Regions from separate parts of the Homo sapiens genome. Here regions 2, 3 and 4 are each linked to region 1. The links are contacts of gene promoters, found by promoter capture Hi-C in blood cells and fetal thymus (Javierre and others, 2016). All regions are on one chromosome and are shown on one strand. Each heading gives the region's core, a stretch centred on a gene start or on the middle of the fragment in contact. The rest is flanking DNA. Distances are from core to core; before and after follow the strand shown.

Region 1 (5,163 bases), core at 2,032-4,531:
GCTGGGTGTCATGGGGCTAGAAACAAAACTAGTTCTTATTTTGAGGGAAGGGCAGAATTTGAGCCTTGGGTTCCTTGCTTTGTATATATAGCAATTAACACAACCTGGATTTTCTTTTCTTTCTTTCTTTTTTTTTTTTTTTGAGACATAGCCTCAACCTATTGCCCAGGCTGGAGTGTAGTTGCACGATCTCGGCTCGCTGCAACCTCCATCTCCTGGGTTCAAGTGATTCTCCTCCATCAGCCTCCCGAGTAGCTGGGATTATAGGTGTGTGGCAACACGCCCGGCTAATTTTTGTATTTTTAGTAGAGACAGGGTTTCACCATGTTGCCAGGCTAGTCTGGAACTCCTGACCTCGGGTGATCCACCCGCCTCAGCCTCCCAAAGTGCTGAGATTACAGGTGCGAGCCACCTCGCCTGGCCTTTTTTTCTCTTTTCTTTTCTTTTTGAGACAGTCTCACTCTGTTGCCGAGGCTGGAGTGCAGTGGCACATGATCTTGGCTCACTGTAACCTCCACTTCCTGGTTTCAAGCGATTCTCCTGCCTCAGCCTCCTGAGTAGCTGGGATTACAGGTGTGTGCCACCATGCCCGGCTATTTTTTTGTATTTTTAGTAGAGATGGGATTTCACCATTTTGGTCAGGCTGGTCTTGAACTCCTGACCTCAAGTGATCTACCTGCCTCGACCTCCCAAAGTGCTGGGATTACAGGCGTGAGCCATCACACTTGGCTTCTTTTTCTTTTTTTGTTTTTTGTTTTTTGTTTTTTTGAGACAGGGTCTTGCTCTGTCAGGGTGGAGTGCAGTGGCATGAACATGGCTTGCTGTAGTCTCAATCTCCTGGGCTCAAGTGATCCCAGCCTGGATTTTCTAAGGCTGTCTGAGGTTCAATGAAAAATTTCACTGATACGTTTGCTAAATTTTATGTTTCTTTCCATGTATTTGCTCAATAAACATGATTTGTTAAACATCAAACTAAATAAGACTGGGCATGGTGGCTCACACCTGTAGTCCCAGCACTTTGGGAAGCCTAGGTGGGTAGATCACTTGAGTTCAGGAGTTCGAGACCAGTCTGGCCAACGTGGCAAAACCCATCTCTACTCAAATACAAAAATTAGCCAGATGTGGTGGCACACACCTGTAATCCCAGCTACTTGAGTGTCTGAGGCTGGAGAATTGCTTGAACTCGGGAGGCAGAGGTTGCAGTGAGTGGAGACCATGCCACTACACTCCATCCTAGGCAACAGAGTGAGACTCTGTTTCAAACAAAAAACATAAAAAACATCAAACTAAATGCAATTTTATTTGGACACATTTATCAAACTTTTATTTTCTTTTTTAGAGAAAGGGTCTCATTCTGTCGCACAGCCTGGAGTTCAGTGGCACAATCATAGCTCACTTTAACCTTGAACTCCTGGGCCCAGGTGATCCTCCTGCCTCAGCCTCCAAAAGTGATGGGATTATGGGTGTAGGCCACTGTGCCTAGCCCTTATCAAACTTTTAGTATTAATTCATCAATTGAAAAAAATCTATTAGAGTATATGATTTGATTTTTTATTTGGATATAATAGTTTGAGGACTTGCTTATATTTTTCAAAAATATTTATTGGACAGCCATTATGTGCCAGAAACTGTGGGGAGCAAAATAAATATAGTCTCTGCCCACTTGTGGCAGGAAGCCTAGCTGGGAACCCTCACATGAAATAAATAGTCACACAAATGACTATGTAATTGTGAGTTGTGATATGAACTGTGAAAGAATAGTACAGAGTTCTTTGTGAAAGTTTACTGAGGGAATTGATTTATACAATGGGGGTCATGGAAGATCTTTGAGCCAGTGACATTTAAGCTTCGACCTGAAAGCCAAAAAAGTGGAAAAATGGACGAGCCAGAAAAAGCAACATGTGCAAAAGCCCTAAGACAGTTCAGAAAGTGAAGCATGTGCAGTACAGTTTAGTAAAAAGGAGGCAGAGTGCAGGGAGAGCCCCAGGTGGCAGGATATCAGAAGGATCAATACAGAAATTCCCGAGAAAAGTCCAGCATAGGAAAACAATATGGAAAAACAAAAAACAACAATGCTCAAAATTTACAATGTTCTCACATATGTTGCCTCAGTTAATCCCTAGGAGAAGTGTGTGCCGCAGGGAGGACAAGGATAATTATGGTTATTCCTACCATTGAGGATTAAAGTTTAGTTTGGGACAAAGTCATGCAGCTTTTGGTTCCATGGTTCATATCACAAGGCAAACTCTGTGGGTTCTCTGGGAAGTTGGAAGGGAGTGAATGTATTGAAGCAGAAATGACCGACTCCAGCCTGGCCAACAGGGTGAAACCCCATCTCTACAAAAAGTACAAAAATTTGCCCTGTGTGTTGGTATGCTGCAATATTGTACTGTGCTCCAGCATGGGAGACAGAGGGAGACCTTATCTCAAAAAAAAAAAAAAAAGAAAGAAATAAAGGAAGAAAGAAATGACCTATGGCTAGGGCTATGCTGAGTATCTGAAGAAAGAAGGCTTTGAACTATACGTTTAAAAGCAAGTACTTCTAGGTTGCCACTCCCTGCCTGCACTTGAGGGATTTATCTCTGGGTCAAGACAGAGAACGAGTCTTGCATTAAATTACATTAAATTAAATGAATTAATTTATGGCTGGGTGCAGTGCCTCATGCCTGTAATCCCAGCACTTTGGGAGGCTGACATAGGAGGATTGCTTGAGCTCAGGGGTTCGAGACCAGCCTGGGCAACATGGTGAAACCCTGTCTCAACAGAAAAAAAAAATTAAAAAAATTGTAAAAAAAAATTATTTATTTTCAACTTTTATTTTAAATTTAGGGGGTACATGAGTTGGTTTGTTATCTGGGTATATTGTGTGATGCTGAGATATAGGGTACGGAGTCTTGCATTTTAGAAAGTGATGAGTCACTTTCAAAGTTGACAGTTCTATAATTCCCTGATTTACATATCAGGACAAAATTTGAGCATAGGCTGGTGATTTCTGACTTGAACCTAAAGGTCTGTGGAATCGGAAGGGTTCATCAAAATGAGAAACTACAACTCCCGGCAGGCCTCGGGGCTGGGTCTTCTTCCCCGCCCCTCCCTCTTTTTCCGCCAGGGCTGGGAACGACCAATGACGGTTAGTCATTTGAATAGACCAATAATATATTAAACGGTTCAGGTTGAGGAGGGGCGGTCGAGTCATCCAATCGCACGGAAGAGGTGAAAACATATTAGCCAATCCAAATATGTGGGGGCGGGACGTAAGGTGGGGCGGTGAAAGAAGTTTGCTGACGAAGATGGCGACTGAGGCACAGAGTGAAGGGGAGGTGCCAGCCCGCGAATCCGGCCGGAGGTGAGCTGAGTTTGGTCCAGTTTCCTGGGAAACGCGGCCTTGGGCTGGTAGTCCTGCCGCCTTTGCCTTGGGTCACGGAGGCGCACGGTTCGGGCTTTGTTTCTTTCTCCCACGGCGTTTCTCATCGTCGCGCCTGCGGGGGCTGAGGCGCGGGGGTCGGGCCTGGGCGCTGGACTCCAGCCAAACCCCCCGCTCGGTCCTGCCGGTGCCCGAGGGGGCTCCTCCCGCTGCGCTGGCTGCAGACGTCCAGCTGGGGGTGGCAGCGCTGATCGCTTTGGCGCCGAGACACCTCTTGATGGCGAGGAAACGGAAGTCCAGGGCTGGTTAGCGAATTCCTCACTGTTGCACACAGCGCTTCACATCTTCTCCGAGGCACTTTGTGCGTTCAGGTCCGAGCAAGGATTTGAGTGTCAATTAGAAACAGTGTTGAGTCCTTGGGCCAGTTTTTAAACCTCTCTCGACTTCAGTTTCTTCATCTGCAAAGGGACGTGAGGATGCCTATTTCCAAGTGTCAAGATTGAATAAGACAATCCATTTAAAGCTAGCACTGAGTTTAGCCGATAATGACAACTCTACGCAATAGATTTTCTTCTTCCTAGTAGAACAGCTAAGGAGCAGATGGGAGAGGGATCTGTAGTCCAGGACATCATGACTTTATTTCCACAGGATGTTCTTTCCTAAACAGCCACACCGAGATTTAGCGTTTTCAGGAGAGAATTTCGAGGTGGTGTTGCCTTAGCCTTGAGACCTAAGTTGTCTTAATTGATTACAATTTTGTTTTTGGTGTAATTCAATAGATTGAGTTTATTTACGTTGCCTCAGTGTAACTCAGTAAAATACTTCGGTTTGGCGTCTTTTGGTTCCATTTGTACCGAATAAGAGATTCCAAGAATCTTGGGAAACTAATAACTTTGTGACTCGGCTTCTTCCTGAGCCCAGATGAGCGTGGTTGAGTGTGTTATTTAAAATATCATACGGGGCCGGGCATGGTGGCTTACGCCTGTAATCCCAGCACTTTGGGAAGCCGAGGGGAGCGGATCACCTGAGATCAGGAGTTCGAGACCAGCCTGGCGAACATGATGAAAGCCCGTCTCTACTAAAAATACAATAATTAGCCGGGTGTGGTGGCGGGCGCCTGTAGTCCCAGCTACTCAGGAGGTTGAGGCGGAGGTTGCAGTGAGCCCAGATGCGCCATTGCATTCCACCCTGGGTGACAGAGCAAGACTATGTCTCAAATAAATAAATAAAATAAAATATGATATGGAAGAGTTTTCCACTCTTTTTTGTTTTGTTTTGTTTTTGTTTTGCAGTTGCAAGATTTCATAGAGTGAAATAGAGTGAAAACACAGCTCCCACACAAAGGGAGGGGACCCAAAGTGGGTGGCCGTTGCTGGCTCTAATGCCTGGGTTTATATCCTGATCCTTGTCCCTCCCGCTGTGCTCTCAGGCAAGAGATGATTGGCTATTTCTTTACCTCCTGTTTTTGCCTAATTAGCATTTTAGTGAGCTCTCTGATTGGTTGGGTGTGAGCTAAGTTGCAAGCCCCGTGTTTAAAGGTGGATGCGGTCACATTCCCAGCTAGGCTCAGGGATTCTTAGTTGGCCTAGGAAATCCAGCTAGTCCTGTCTCTCAGTCCCCCTTCTCAACAGGAAAACCCAAGTGCTGTTGGGGAGATTGGCCGATGACCGCCCTAACTGCTTCCTGCTGAATTGGGGCGTAGTAGGGGTTGTGCAGTTGAGATTTCCTCGGGAGGGTTGCCTTCGATGTCATTAACATCGGAGCATGGGCTAGCAGGCTGTTCCAGGGGTCCGCGGTGG
Region 2 (5,299 bases), core at 1,437-3,936, 360 kb before region 1:
ATGATGTAATCCAGCACCACCAACCGCTCAAACTGGAGCAGTAGTTGCCGGTTAGTGTTCTCAGGAAGAGGTTCTGCTTCAAAACGCCGCAGCCAATAGTCTGCATCTTTGTAGCCTTCAACAAAGAGCTGGAATGAACCAACCTGGAACCAAGAGGAAGGAACAAAGGTTTTTCCCTACTGCCCAAATCCAAAGACCTTTGGAGTATATGCCAGATACCCATTAAGGCCCTATGGAGTTTGTATCAGAGAAGGAAAACTTTTCAAGATCTTTACTTCCTCATTTCTTGCAAGTACAGGAGAAAAGAGATGTAACAGTGATCATCCATCCAAATTAAAGAACCTATCCAAATGAACCAGAGGAGTAAAGTGAAAAGTTAGGTCTCAACTTTTCAAACCTTAGCCACTTGACAGAAATAAGGAAGACAGGATCCTCAGGGCAGGTTATTCACGTGCCCATATTTGAGTTGTAGGCACCTTGCTTCACCACTTGGATGACTATGTCACTATAAATCATGACCCTTGATAAGCCAGAGGTGCGTCTATACCTTTGGTGGTAGCCCGATGCGGTTAAACCGCTGTCCAACTTTTGGCACTTTCTCTAGTGCAAGCCGCTTGCCCCTGGACTTCACTCGGTCAATGGCACTATAGTTGAAGGTCTCACTGGCCAGGTATACTACCTACAGTGAAAGAGAAGAGATACTAAGGTTAGAGTCAAGTTTAAGGAACCAGAAGACTATGGCAGAGAATAAATAGCTTGATGTTCACAAATCCTATTCCTCTTCCAGGGCACAGAAAGAATACATTTCTCAGCCTTCCCAGCAACTAGGAGAGGGAAGATAACTAGTTTGGGCCAATGAAATAATGACAAAATTATGTATGTACAACACTTCCACTGCTGGCAACTAAAATCTCCCACAATCCTTAATTCACATTCTCCAGTCTGTGCAGCTAGGAAAGAAGGGCTGGGAAATAGCAGAGCCACACCATGGAAGAACCTCGGATACCTTGTAACTACATGAGTGATGTGGTATCTAGGAGAGCTGCCTATCTGGCATGAGTCTGAGATGTAATCAAGAAATACACTCCTGGCCAGGCGTGGTGGCTCACACCTGTAAACCCAGCACTCTGAGAGGCCGAGGTGGGCAGATCACTTGAGGTCAGGAGTTCGAGACCAGCCTGGCCAACATGGTTAAACCCCGTCTCTACTAAAAATACAAAAATTAGCCAGGCATGGTGGTGCACGTCTGTAATCCTAGATACTTCGGAGGCTGAGGTGGGAGGATGGCTTGAACCTTGGAGGCAGAGGTTGCAGTGAGCCAAGATCGCACCACTGCACATTCTATCCTGGGTGACAGAGGGAGACTCTGTCCCAAAAAAAATATGATAAAAAAGAAATACAATCCAATTGTATTAAACCACTTAGATTTAAGGGTTGTTACAGCAGCTAGTATGAAGTACAAGGATTAACACTGTCATCTCCTGGGTTAGATTAGGCCAAATGCCCATCTTCTTTCCAGAGACAAACAAGTTGCAATTTACTCTGTACCCCTTCATTTCCTTTTGAAAAAAAATTTTTTTTTTTTTTTTTTTTTGAGACAGAGTCTCACTCTGTTGCCCAGGCTGGAGTGCAGTGGCACAGTCTCGGCTCACTGCAACCTCCAAGTCCCGCATTCAAGCAATTCTCATGCCTCAGCCTCCCAAGTAGCTGGGATTACAGGTGTGTGCCACCACTCCTGGCTAATTTTTGTATTTTTAGTAGAGAGAGGGTTTCACCATGTTGGCCAGGCTGGTCTTGATCTCCTGACCTCAGGTGATCCTCCTACCTCGGCCTCCCAAAGTGCTGGGATTACAGGCATGAGCCACTGTGCCCGGGCCCTTTTGAATTTTTTTACTTTGTGAAATTATTCGTATTCAAAACACAAACATTAAAATTGGTTTTCATTTTAATTAACTGCTATTTTTATGTATAGGCTATACACTGTAATCCTGGCTGCCTCTGAGGAAGGAAACTGAATGGCCAGGAGATAGGGGTAGCAGGGAGTCTGAATTACTTTTCTCTGTTTACCCTATGTGCCTTCTGATTTTTATACTAGATGCATGCATTACTTATTCTAAAAAAAATTTTTATGAGCCATCAATATTATACTTAAGTCAAATTGCAGTGACGTAATTGTAATCCACATATGCATCTATTGTCACACTTATCACATTGTCTTGTAATTATCCATTTGTATATCTAACTCCTCCTTTAAAATGAATGAGATTTGAGGAAGCGGAGAACATCTTATTTATATTAGCATCCACAGCACCTAACACAGTAGCTGGCATATGCTCATTAAATATTTATTAAGTGAATGAAGAATGAGTTACAAGCTTCTTTCAGAGACAGCAACAAGTGAGTTTTAGCATATAAATACCTAAAATCAAACTTATAAGAAAGGTATTTTCCTAAGCCTTGTAAAATTTATTACAAATAACTATTTTTTTTCCCATGAACCTGAGAGGCAAAATAACTGCCTCTCATCTATCGCTCCATGCTACCATCTAGTATTAATAGACTACCTAAAATGGATGTGCATGGTACTGTAGTAGGCACTCCCTGCCTTACAAATCAGAAAACTCAGGCATAGGAATGAAGGAAAAAGAGCTTTCCTAAGGCTACCTTGCCAGTGTCCACAGTGAAACTCCTGGCTCTCTCAAGCCATAAATCCCCTTTTGCCCCCATCATATTTATTTTCTATCATTCTTCCTAACAAACCACTTTTTCCCCATGACTAATGAAACTATCATAACCTGAAACCTCATAGGAGCAGAGAGCAGAGACAGCCAGTGAGTGAGAATTAGAGCCTTACCATTTGAAGTTCCAATGCAATGTGAACCTTGTTTCTATAATGACAGATGCTCTGATCAACTGGATAGAGTCCTGTCACAAGAGTTGGGGAGACAGGGAGAGGAGTCCTCTTACTATTCTCCAGCAGCTATATGTTAAGCTTCCAAAGTTCTGTCTCATCTCAGTCTCATGGAAGACAAGTATTTTTTTTTTTTGAGACGGAGTCTCGCTCTGTTGCCCAGGATAGAGTGTGGTGGCACAATCTCAGCTCACTGCAACCTCTGCCTTCCAGGTTCAAGCGATTCTCCTGCCTCAGCCTCCCAAGTAGCTGGGATTACAGGCACGCACCACCATGCTCAGCTAAGTTTTGTATTTTTAGTAGAGACAGGGTTTCACCCTGTTGGCCAGGCTGGTCTCGAACTCCTGACCTGAGGTGATCCACCCACTTAGGCCTCCCAAAGTGCTGGGATTACAGGCGTGAGCCAATGAGCCCAGCCAAGACAAGTATTTTTGTTGTTGCTGACTTTCTGATGCAAAAGATCCTCAGGCCTCGTGAAGGTTCTCTAACAGGGAAAGAGGAAGACCAAAGATAGGGACGAAAGGGATTGTGGGGGTGACACTAACGATTAGAATAGCTGATAAAAATATCACAGGCTAACATATGGAGGGTTTACGTTGTGCCTGGCACTCACTCAGCTATGTGCTTCATATAGGCTGTCTTGTGTAATATTGATGGCCACTCTACAAAGTAGGAACTATTTATATCCCTATTTTTACAGTAAGGAAACTGAGCCTAGGGAGGTTACATGACTTGCCCAAGTGTTACACAAATCAAAAACTGCAGAGCAAGAATTCAAACTCAAGTCCTCTGATTCTTGGGCACCACACTCCAGAAGCACCAACAGAGCAGGTAGGCATAGAGCCAGACACGGTCTGCTATTTGCCTAGTAAAGGAAGAAAACTATAGAGTGATAAGCAAGGAGAATGTAAAAGTTTCTAGAGTCTAAGAGGAGCCTAGTAGAAGCATTTCAGGTTAGGAGACTTAAGAACATTAATTATCATACAAGATGTTCAAAGCATGCTGTAAAACTATCTGCACAGAGAGGGAAAAGTAAGGCATAAAGAGAAGGAATGAGCTGTACAAAGCCAGGCAGTGAATTAGATGTGAAATGGGAACTAGAAGCCTGGTCAAACATTTTCTCGCTAGACCTAAAGTTGGAAGAACTTTGGTATTGTTTCTCATGATTTCATATTCATTTACTGACTCAGCTGGTACTTCATGAATGCTTACTATAAATATAGTATTTTGCTAGGTGCTGAGAATGAGAGAGGAAATCTTGAGAAGTGGTCTCTGACTTCTATAACTTACAAACTAGTTGGCTAATTGTTTGGAGTTTAGTAGCAAAGGAGCAGACATGGTTAAATATCCACAATAGTCACATTTTCCTCTCAAACGGAAGGGAAGTTTCTACTGCTGATCAATCTCTTTGCTCATAGAATCTGCTATCTAAACCTGAGAAGACATCTTTAAGGCTGGGTGTGGTGGCTCACACTTGTAATCCCAGCACTTTGGGAGGCCAAGGCAGGAGGATAGCTTGAGCCCAGGAGTTCAAGACCAGCCTGGGCAAAACAGGGAGACCTTGTCTCTACAAAAAATTAAAAAAAAAAAAAATTAGCCAGGCATGGTGGCACATGCCCGTAGTCCCAACCTGAGAGGCTGAGGTGGGAGGACTGCTTGAGCCTGGGAGGTCAAGGCTGCAGTGAGTTGTGATCATGCCACTGCACCCCAGCCTGGGCAACAGAGCAAGACCCTGTCTCTAAAAATAAGAAAGAAAAGAAAACTTTAAGCAGAGGGATTTTAATCTAGAGACATGCTCCCTGGGGTGTCAACAGATAGACTGCAACGTTTATGAACCATTGCCCTAAAATTATACACAAAACAATAATTGCAAATATATGTACTTTTTCTGGAAAGGGGGTCTATAGGTTTCATCAGATTCTCAAAGAGTTATTTACTAAATAACTAAATAAATTTAGTTTTAGTTATTTAGTAAATAACTAAATAAACTAGCATAGACTAGTTAAGACTAAGCACGGAGCCAGGATTGTTTAGATGACTCAGCAGCCTCAGGGCATCAGATGAGAGTCCCACCTAAGTTGTTACTAAACCCCAGGTAGCCACGTACTCAGTGAATGATGTGTCCGGACATGTTCATATGCTGACCAGTAGATTCCTTCCCCTCATAACCTTTGGTGAGTTTCATGGAATACCTTGTAGTGCAGGGGTTCTTAGCCTGGTGTCAGTAAACTCCCTCAAATTGTATGCAATCAATTCTGTATTCAAGCATATTGGTGGGGGTGGGGGTTGGGGGAGACCTCAACTATGTCTATAACACATACAAGATGTGTATGAATCCATTCTGAGTGTGAGTTTGCCTAGATCTGGCACCCCTATTTTGATGTGTTC
Region 3 (5,060 bases), core at 1,029-3,528, 390 kb before region 1:
AACAGTGGCTTGAGAGCCCGGGTGCTGGGGTCAGACTGCCTGGGTTCATGTCCCAGCTTCCATCACCTGCCAGCTGTGTGACTTTGGGTGTAGCTTTCTCATCTGTAAAATGGGTATAACAATAGTGCCACCTTAAGTGAGGAGGAAAGAAAGCACCCATCTGAACGTGCTCTGTTCTGCGCTTGACACTGAACAAGCTGCCTCTATGATTTTAATCATAAAGCTATGATTTAAAAGTACACAGATTTGTTGATGGCTGTGATGATGAAAATGACAATGATTCTATAGCCCCTGGTAGTCAAACAGCCTTTCCCTTCATCATTTATTCATTCAACCAGCATGCATAGAATGTCTGTGGTATACCAGGTACTAGAAGGAATGCCGTCACAAACTTAATCTCCCTTTTCCTGTTAAGAGTTATTTATACTCACCATTTATTTTAAAAAGCTTATTTAAAATTTTATAGAGGCAGTCTTGCTATGTTGACCAGGCTGGTCTGGAACTCCTGGGCTCAAGCAATCCTCCCACCTCAGCCTCCCAAAGTGCTGGGATTACAGGCGTGAGCCACCAGGCCTGGCCTTATACTATTTTGATGACGAGCAACTTGTGGCAGGGGAAACTGAGACTTATCCAAGGTCACCCAGTTAGCAGCACAGCCAGAATTCAGGGTTCTAGAAATCTTGAAAGGGTTATCCCTAGATCTAGTAGCAGTTTATTTCCAGGTCATATATGAGAACTGGTCTGGGGAAAGGGCCCAGTTCCTTTCTCCACCTCCAGGGGCATGGATTTGGAGGCCAATGTATATCCAGTTGTCTCGGCATACCTCCCTGAGGCTAGGCCCTGCTGGTGGGGAAGCCCACACAGCGATTTGAACTGGGCTTCCCATTTGAGGAGCCACAGATTTTGGCTGCTGTCCAGTGGCATGTCTGTATAGGATAGCAGGCCAGGGTCCCAAGTGTTGATTCAGGCCTTGGGCCAGAGCCTCCAGTAATTTTTCTAAGAGCCCCTAGGCCCCTGATTACAGAGATTATTGCTATCACCTGGGTTATTGGAAGGGGGCCTCCTCCTGCATGAGGACCTAGGAGTTGCCAGCTCACCCAAATGTGTTCTGCCTCTGGTGGTTACCTGTGCCTCCCTGGGACTGCAGTGAGATACTCTCCTAGAATAGCTGTCTGAACTGAACTTCATATATTGCAAAGAGTGCTCAATTGCGCGCCATATTTATATATTGCAAATTCATTGCATGGTGAGTCACTTTTTAAATATATTTCTTTGTTAGGGTTCCACAGTTCTTCACTTATTGCCTGTTTCAAAACAAGTTGAACTTTGTCATTTTCAATGTTTGGTATTTCCTTTGGGGTTCACTTTCAACCTAGTTTGTGTCAAATTGAAGTATTTTGCAATTGGTCTTTACTCGTTTGTACACAGACCCATACTTACCTTCTTTTATGTCAGTTCTGAAATGAAAGGTCCATTTGTAATCTTTTAATAGCCCCATGGTTTCATTTTCTAGTTTTCAAAAGTACTATTGTGCAAGTATACACTGACTTTTCCTGGACTAAGGTCTTCTCCAGGAAATTGGAGGGAAAATAACTATTGAACACATGGAATGAGACAGGAAAAGTTTCCTTTGATAATAAAAGTGTTCTGATTCGACATTTCATCGGTTTTCCCAAAACTTAACCATCTAATCCTACCTGGAATCAGCCTAGTTTTATTCCCAGCCTCACTCTGCTGTCTGAATCCCAGAATAAGAGACAGAGCCAAGAGTGAGGGGCTTGGCCGGTCATGGTGGCTCACGCCTATAATCCCAACACTCTGGGAGGATGAGGTGGGTGGATCACTTGAGGTCGGGAGTTCAAGACCAGCCTGGCCAACATGGTGAAACCTTGTCTCTACTAAAAATACAAAAATTAGTCGGGCGTGTGGTGGGCACCTGTAATCCCAGCTACTTGGGAGGTTGTTGAGGCAAGAAAATTGCTTGAACCTTGGAGGCAGAGGTTGCAGTGAGCTGAGATTGCGCCACTGCACTCCAGCGTGGGTGACAGAGTGAGACTCCGCCTCAAAAAAAAAAAAAAAAAAGAGTAAAAAGAGTGAGGGGCCTCAAAATCTGGAGGTGCTAGGCCCTCCCTAAGGTTCAAGGAGGGTTGAGGCTGGAGGCTCAGACTCTCCCTGAGGGTTTCTTGGTATGTTTGTGACTCGCAGCTCGCTGAAGCTGTGGAGTCAAAGCCTTGCCATCCTGGGAGAGGTTGTTGGGAAGTCAGGCTCCAAGCCATTTCCTCCCCGAGGCAGCTGCTGCTACATGATCCTTATTGCCCTTCTTTTCCTGGGGAGGTGAGGCCAGATATCACCCTTTCTCCTACTACCCCAGACCTGCCTAGGCGTCTGCCCCGGGCTTGGTCATTGCCAGCTGAGGTCACTAGGGAGCTTTAGAGCTGTGAGTTCTGTTTTCTACCAGATGCTAACCCCAGGGCCCACTGCAGCAAAACAACATAGAGTAGGGAGGAGAAAGGGAGCTACTGGCTGGGGAATTTCCTAGCACCCAGTTAGCCAGACCTGTCCACACATTGCCCCTAGGCTTTGGCAGACAAGTAGCTCCGTTCCTCCTTCTGTACAGACTTACCTGCGGGTGGAATTGTTGACTCTCAGCACTGGTGCAGGCCCTCAGAAACAAACAGCATCAAGCTGTTCTTATAGCAGTAACAGGGAAGCTGACCCACAGAGGGGATGTGAATTGCCTGAGGTTTTTCAGCCAGTGAGTGGCAGAAGTAGGGCTTGAACCGACTCCTCTGACTCGTAAGCCAGGGCTCTGTGCACTGGGCTGGGTTGCAGTTCTTGATTTCTTCTGTGGAAGCTGGGCTCTTCCTCTTTAGAGTGCTACGGCTCAAGGCTGGGCTGTCACCCAGGAAAGAGCCCTGACCCTAGAGAACAGACTAACGAAATTCCACAGCTCCACCCCTGCCTCCACCAGGTGGGATAATTCATTGTCCTTCCCTTTCCATTGGTAGGATTTCCCCTTCATGAATTAGGTGGGAATAGGAAAGCATTCTTCATAGAAATGTGAAGTGTTCTTTAAGCTGCCTGGCTGTGAAGCCAGCTCGGGGGTTTAAAAGCGTGGGCTGACCGGGCGCAGTGGCTCACACCTGTAATCACAACACTTTGGGAGGCCAAGGCGGGTGGATCACCTGAGGTCAGGAGTTCAAGACCAGCCTGACCAACATGGTGAAACCCTGTCTTTACTAAAAATACAAAAAATTAGTCGGGAGTGGTGGGGGACGCCTGTAATCCCAGCTATTCGGGAGGCTGAGGCAGGAGAATCACTTGAACTCAGGAGGTAGAGGTTGCAGTGAGCTGAGATTGCAACACTGCACTCCAACCTGGACAACAAGAGCAAAACTCACTCTCAAAAAAAAAATAAAAATAAAAGCATGGGCTGCAGTCATTTGAACCACCTCTGGCCTCGGCTAAGCCACTGGTACTCATATTTGCATCTTAGCTTCCCTTTACTTCCCTGTGAAATGGGATAACAGTCCCTAACTCCTAGAATTGTTTTGAGGATTAAAGGATATCATACGTATTGCCTGATCCAGAGTAAATATCCCATAGTTAGCTTTTCTTTTTATCAGCCTAAAAGTGTTACTTGGCGACTGTTGTCTTCTTGTCACAGTGTGTTTATGTCATCCAGCTCTGGGGGCTTAATTACCATATAGATTAGGTTTTAACTGGATTTTCATAATAGCACCTAAGGAGAGGCAGATTTTTAAATTTCCATTTTCCAAATAAAATACAATTTTCATGACGTTAACTCATCTGGAAGTCTTCTGCAGCTTTATTGTAGTTGTTAAATCTTTTGAAAACAGGGTGGAGTTTTTATGATAGAAGGCCTGGAAACTGGGACAGAGTGAGCATAGAAATGATTGGGATAATGAGGGTGACTATTGAGGTGAGGAGCGGAGAAGGCCAGGGCAAGGGGGGGAGTCATATTTTGGGAGTATGAGTGGGGCGGAGACAATTCAAACTCTTACAGAGAACAAAAGGCAGGTTAGGGGAAGGGTTACTTCTGCAAGTGGGTTGATAGGAAATTGGAAAAGTTTTTATATATAAGCTTTTGTACTGTTTGCCTCTTATGATGAGCATGTAAATATTTTAATTTAAAAATATTTTAATGTTCCTTTTCCCCTTTTGGAAGCTGGTTGCTGTTGACAGCTGTCTCTGTAGCTGGCTGTGGAATGAGGTCTGACTTAGGCAACCAGGCCCTGGAGAAGCAGCAGGACCTGCTCCTCCTCTCCCCAGCAGGCCTGGGGCTGGGAGAGATGGGTGGGAGCACAGGCCTGTCATCAGCTGGCTGTGCCACACAGCTTAGAGGAAAGAGGAGGGTTTACCTGTACCCCTGACCCAGGTACAAAGGTCACAGAGGCCAACAGAGGAGGATTTGCGTTTATAAATTCCTCAGTATCCATGGAGGGTGGTTCCAGGCTCCTCCGTGGGACGCTTAAGTCACTTACATAAAATGCCATGTTGGCCTATAGACTGCGCACATCCTCCTGCATGCTTTAAATCATCTCTAGGGTACTTATAATACCTAATACAATGTGAATGTTTTGTAGTTACAATGTATCTATTTTTTATTTGTATTTTTTAATTGTTGTATCATTGTATTCTTTTTTTCTTTTTTTTTTTTTTTTCTTTTTTTTTGAGACGGAGTCTCGCTCTGTCGCCCAGGCCGGACTGCGGACTGCAGTGGCGCAATCTCGGCTCACTGCAAGCTCCGCTTCCCGGGTTCACGCCATTCTCCTGCCTCAGCCTCCCGAGTAGCTGGGACTACAGGCGCCCGCCACCGCGCCCGGCTAATTTTTTGTATTTTTTAGTAGAGACGGGGTTTCACCTTGTTAGCCAGGATGGTCTCTATCTCCTGACCTCATGATCCACCCACCTCGGCCTCCCAAAGTGCTGGATTACAGGCGTGAGCCACCGCGCCCGGCCGTATTCTTTTTTTTAAGACGGAGTTTTGCTCTTGTTGCCCAGGCTGGAGTGCAATGGCGGGATCTCGGCTCACCGCA
Region 4 (5,557 bases), core at 1,370-3,869, 340 kb before region 1:
AGTCACATAGTCACCAATATTTCATAATCATTCTTTCTTGAATCAAATTATTGCCACTGCTAACTAGAAATACCAAATTGAAAGCACTATTGTTTAATTATATGTATGGGAATGTCTTAAACATTTTTGGCCAGACAAACCATTCTAAACAAAAGTCGTACAGAAGGTTAAATTGCCCCTTTCAGTTATAATACATGCACTTCCTTTTCCTATCTAGACCTCAATAATCAACTGATGCCTGGCTCTTGTGGCCCAGGGTCTGTAGCCACATAGATAATCTTTTGGTATCATTCATCTCATTTAGCCCATAAGCTTCAAATTATGGTAAAGGAAAGGTCCCAGATTTAGAGTTCTCCCTGGAATTCTGAGTTTTTTCTCCACAGAAACCCCTCAGAGTCTTTTATTTTATCTAAAAAAATTTTTTGGCCAGGCACAGTGGCTCACGCCTGTAATCCCAGCACTTTGGGAGGCCGAAGCGGGTGGATCACGAGGTCAGGAGTTCGAGACCAGCCTGGTCAAGATGGTGAAACCCTGTCTCTACTAAAAATACAAAAATTAGCCGGCTCTGTCACTCAGGCTGGAGTGCAGTTGTGCAATCTCAGCTCACCGCAACCTCCGCCTCCCGGGTTCAAGCGATTCTCCTGCCTCAGCCTCCTGAGTAGCTGGGACTACAGGCGCGGGCCACCACATCCGGCTAATTTTTGTATTTTTCAGTAGAGACGGGGTTTCACCATGTTGGCCAGGATGGTCTCGATCTGTTGACCTCATGATCCGCCCACCTCGGCCTCCCAAAGTGCTGGGATTACAGGCATGAGCCACCACACCCGGCCTAGACATTGTTTTAAATGCATTACATGGATTAACTCATGGAACCAGCTTTATAGTATCCTGTGATGTTGGAAACCCAGACCCAGGGAGGTAAAGGTAATGTGCCCATGGTCATTCAGCTGGTAAATGGCAGAGCCGGATCCAAATCCAGGCAGACTGTTTCCATGCTCTTAACACTATGTTGATTCTTATTAAATATCCCTATGAAATATGTCTCATATTTACCCCCTTTCTTTCATCTCCACTGATGCTACATGAAACTTCCAGGATGTGTTAGTTGCATTATTACAATAACTTCTGAGTTTGTTACTTTGCTTCCAATCTCTCACTGGTCATCTCTGAGTGTCACTGTCAGATTAATTTTCATAAAATACTGCTTGTAGTGTGTCATTCCCCTGGCCAAGAAACTACATTTTATTTATTTATTTATTTATTTATTTATTTATTTATTTATTTATTTATGTTTTGAGACAGGGTCTCTGTTAACCAGGCTCAAGCAGTTCTCTTGCCTTAACCTCCCGAGTGCTGGCACCACAGGCACTTGTCACCACACTCAGCTAATTATAAAGGCCATAAGAGTAACAATCATGGCTTTTCAAGCCTGACAGAACCTAGCATCATGCTGTACTCACATTGTTTAAGAAATAAACATATGGATACACAGATTGATGTGAGTGGTATTTGGGAAGATTTGCTCCAATCTTGGCACTATATTTTATTTATTTATTTATTTATCTAGTGAACCAGAAATAAAATTATAAGCCCCCCAATCAAATGAATGGCCTCCTCTTCTGGGCCAAGGGCATTCCTAAATTAACCTGAAAAACTATTTGAGGCCATGATGAGAAGTGGGAGTCAGACATGCCTCATTATTTTCTCCTGCTTTTGGAATTCAGGACCAGCATTTAACATTAAAGCAGAGATCTTAAGGTTGACACAGCAGACTCTTTGTAGCAATGATACCAACATTGACAGATAGCAGGCCCCATCTGTCATGATAGCAGGCAAAGGTGTCTTTTATGGTGAAAATCTACATTCTGTAGAAAATCCCCTTCCCTTTCCAGGTCTTTTTCCTGATCCAGGGGAGAACTAACTAAGAGTCTGATACCTTTCTAAATCTGATAATAAACACTGGCCAGCCTTGGTGGCTCACACGTGTAATCCTAGCACTTTGGGAGGCAGAGATGGGAGGATCACTTGAGCCCAGGAGTTCAATACCAGCCTGGGCAACATGACAAAACACCATCTCTACAAAAAATACAAAAATAAGCCAGGCATAGTGGAATGAACCAGTAGTCTCAGCTACTTAGGAGGCTGAGGTGGGAGGATAACTTGAGCCTGGGAGGTCAAGGCTGCAGTAAGCCGTGATCCAGCTACTGCACTCCAGACTGGGTGACAGAGGGAGACCCTGTCTCAAAACAAAAAAAAAAATAAAGAAACATTTACAATCTATGCTCTCTGGAGCCTGCTACCTGTAGCCTTCTCTGCATAATAAAAACCTTGATTTCCACAATTCCTTGTGTGTGTGTGTGTGTGTGTGTGTGTGTGTGTGTGCGTGCATATCTTAGTAACAATTCCTTAACTTAACCCAGACATTCCCTTCTGTGGGTTCCAGGTCTTTAAACTCTTTCAACCAATTGTCAATCAGGACATCTTTGAATCCACCTACATCCTGGAACTTGCCACCCCCACCCCCACTTTCGGGACCAAGCCAATGTATATTTTACATGTATTGATTGATGTCTTACGTCTCCCTAAAATGTATAAAATCAAGTGGTGTCCCGACTATTTTGGACACACATTCTTAGGACCTTCTAAGGCTGTGTCACGGGCATGTCCTTAACATTGGCAAAATAAACTCCTAAATTGATTGAGACCTGTCTCAGATACTTTTTGGTTTGCAATTTATTTATTTGAGACAGGGTCTTGCTAGGTCGCCCAGGCTGGGGTACAGTGGCAGAATCATGGCTTATTGCAGCCTCAACCTCCTGGGCTCAAGGGATCCTCCCACCTCAGCCTCCTGAGTAGCTGTGACTACAGGCACCCACCACTAGGCTGGGTAATTTTTTTCTTCTGTAGATACGGAGTCTCCCTGCGTTGCCCAGGCTGATCTAGAACTCTTGGGCTCAAGCCTCCCGCACTCCTGAGCTCAAGCCGCGGCCTCCCGAAGTGCTGGGATTACAGATGTGAGCCACTGCGCCTGGCCAGGTACTATATTTTAAACAAAAAGGATCTAGATAATGACAAGGACAGCACAAATTCCTATAATGAATGCAAAAGTGTCTTGATATCACAATGTCTAGCACAGAGTTATTGGAGGCTATCCTGCCTAGCGCGTTACAATTTACAAAGCTGCCTCTCTGAAGCTGGATTTAGGATCTGCCTTAAACTCCGCGGCGGGGCCCTTGACAGCAGTGGGGACTGGAGCAAGATCAGAGCCGCTCGCGTTGATGGTCACTGTTGCTTCGGGCGCAGGTTTGGTTTTCTTTGGGGTTGCCATTTCAACTAGACGGCCTCTGGGTAGGCCAGATCTGGATCCTCTGTCTTTATCTGCGTTGCAGAGGTGGGACCACCCCTCTTTCACATAGTCAGCCCGGGTTCGCAAACACTCGGCCCCGCACAAAGATGGCGTGGAGCCGGGCTGGGCCAATGCGGAGTGGCGTTGCTCCCGGTTGCCTAGGTAACAGCCAATGGGCAGCGGGAATTGTACCCAGTGCGGTCGCCCAGGATGGCGGCGTCAAGTGGGGCAATCGCTGGTGGAGGTGGCGGAGAGCAAGGTGGCAGCCGGGAGCCCATCAGAGGAAAAGTCCGAGGCGCTGGAACCCTGCGTCCAGGCGTGACGGTCATCCCGAAAGGCCGGCCCCAGGTTGGCTGGAGGCGCAGGAGGGAGGGGGCCGGGAAAGAGTGTGATCGGTCAGGTGGGCACTGAGGAACGGAGCACGAGATGACCCGGCTCGGGGGCGCGGCTCCACCTCGGATACGCTGACCTGAGGGCGGTTGCCTGTGGGGGACCCAAACCTGAACCCTTTAGTCTCCACCGCGGGGGTCGAGGCCCGGGAGAGCTGACTGGACTGGGGTTAGCGAGCAGAGGGTGGAGGGTTGCATCAGGGGAATTGGCAGACCTGTGTGAGCGTTAGACCCTGCCGGGCGGGAGAGCGGGCCCGGATAGCAGGAAGGAACGCGCCTGGAAGGTGAAAATGGGGTGCGAGAAGGTGTTGCCTTGTTGTGGTCTAGGGCTTTGTTTTCCCTGAGCCCGCCTTTATCTCACTGGTGGAGAGAACTCCCACATATGGAAGCCTGGGGAATGGGATGCTTCATTTAGTTGATGGGTGGTATCCCTGCATTCTAGCATCTCTGAACTGCTTAGGTACCAGCAGGAATAACTGCTATATCGGAGTCCAGCCCTGGCATTCCCTTTCCCGTGAAATAGGATAGTATTCTGGCAGTATTACTCCCTAGTCCCAATCACCCCCAGGTCATCATCGCCTTTAAATAAAAAAAAAAAAAAATCTTTTTGGCGCCAGTATTTTCTTCCCACTTTCTTCAATCTAACCATCCCACAGTCTTCCCTAAACGAACCCTTCATATAGCAACGATACATTTCTTTACTTTTCACATGAGGAAAGAGGAGGTTAGACTTATAATGAAAAACAGTTATTTCGAGCTCCTTTTAAAACACTTAAAAAAAAATATTTAGGCCGGGCGCGGTGGCTCACGCCTGTAATCCCAACACTTTGGGAGGCCGAGGCGGGTGGATCACGAAGTCAGGAGTTCAAAACTAGCTTGGCCAAGATGGTGAAACCTCGTCTCTACTAAAAATACAAAAATTAGCCAAGCATGGTGGCACGTGCCTGTAATCCCAACTACCCAGGAGGCTGAGGCAGGAGAATTGCTTGAACCTGGGAGGCGGCGGTTGCAGTGAGCCAAGATCCTGCCACTGCACTCCAGCATGGGGGACAGAGCAAGACTCCGTCTCAAAAAAAAAAAAAAAAAAAAAAAAGGGGAGTATTATTTGACTTTTTGTTCTAGGTTCCTAACAAGGCTAATCTTTGTTCATCAAAGCCTTCATTTTCTTCTCTTTAGGATTCTAAAAGCTTATGAACTGCTTTCTTTATTACTGAAATAATTTGACAAGACTATTGTACCCTGGGAAGGGTGGTTCTGGGGGGACATGTGGGTAGTTAGGGTGGCTGCCTCCACCCAGTATTCTCTAACTGGATCTCCCCCACCGCCCCAACCTTTTGTTTTGTTTTGCTTTTCTTTTCTTTTTTTTGAGACAAGGTCTGGCTCTGTTGCCCAGGCTGGAGTACAGGTGTGGTGCAGTCACTGCTCACCCCGGCAGCCTCAAATTGTGGGCTCAAGCAATCCTCCTACCTCAGCCTCCTGAGTAGCTGGGACTACAGGCATGCACCACCACACCCAGCAAATTTTTGTATTGTTTTGTAGAGATGAGGTCTCACTACGTTTCCCAGCTTGGTATTGAACTCCTGGGCTCAAGCGATCCTCTTGCTTCAGCCTCCCAACGTGCTGGGATTACAGGAGTGAGCCATCATGCCTGGCCCTTTTTCCTCTTTATGTCAGTTTTTTTTTTTTTAATCCTCTTAAATTGGACACAGTTTACTGTGAATACAAAAATGTTGTTTAATACGTTGATTTCTTAAAATTAGAAAACGATAAAAAGAACGGAAACAAAAATTCTCGTTATTGCCTCAGAGTTCTGTTTGGAAAT

What was found. Contacts are between HindIII fragments. The CHiCAGO score rates a contact against its expected background, and 5 or more counts as called.
Region 2: a fragment that was not itself captured here is called in contact with the fragment with the promoter of ARHGAP19 in region 1 in 2 of 17 cell types (neutrophils and monocytes); the score reaches 9.4 in neutrophils.
Region 3: a fragment that was not itself captured here is called in contact with the fragment with the promoter of ARHGAP19 in region 1 in 1 of 17 cell types (neutrophils); the score reaches 7.3 in neutrophils.
Region 4: a contact is called between a fragment that was not itself captured here and the fragment with the promoter of ARHGAP19 in region 1, in 1 of 17 cell types (neutrophils). The highest score is 6.9, in neutrophils.

Annotation. Positions count from the first base shown.
Region 1 is chr10:97,290,755-97,295,917 of GRCh38, reverse strand. It overlaps ARHGAP19 (Rho GTPase activating protein 19), which reads left to right and starts at 3,281. Exons shown (of 12, transcript NM_032900.6): 1 at 3,281-3,346. The coding sequence starts at 3,291. ARHGAP19-SLIT1 (ARHGAP19-SLIT1 readthrough (NMD candidate)) reads left to right here and starts at 3,245. Exons shown (of 15, transcript NR_037909.1): 1 at 3,245-3,346. RefSeq lists a silencer at 3,560-3,609 and enhancers at 2,954-3,710, 3,711-4,469. The HindIII fragment of the contact is 8,887 bases long and covers 1,849-5,163 here.
Region 2 is chr10:97,651,665-97,656,963 of GRCh38, reverse strand. It overlaps PI4K2A (phosphatidylinositol 4-kinase type 2 alpha), which reads right to left. Exons shown (of 9, transcript NM_018425.4): 3 at 548-679; 4 at 1-143. Among named protein-coding and RNA genes, the nearest start is that of PI4K2A, 14 kb to the right of the region's middle. RefSeq lists an enhancer at 4,419-5,299. The HindIII fragment of the contact is 617 bases long and covers 2,378-2,994 here.
Region 3 is chr10:97,681,520-97,686,579 of GRCh38, reverse strand. All of the region lies in intron 1 of AVPI1 (arginine vasopressin induced 1), which reads left to right. Among named protein-coding and RNA genes, the nearest start is that of AVPI1, 3.2 kb to the left of the region's middle. RefSeq lists an enhancer at 1-202. The HindIII fragment of the contact is 3,658 bases long and covers 450-4,107 here.
Region 4 is chr10:97,631,484-97,637,040 of GRCh38, reverse strand. It overlaps MORN4 (MORN repeat containing 4), which reads left to right and starts at 3,541. Exons shown (of 5, transcript NM_178832.4): 1 at 3,541-3,694. RefSeq lists an enhancer at 3,188-3,277. The HindIII fragment of the contact is 4,610 bases long and covers 315-4,924 here.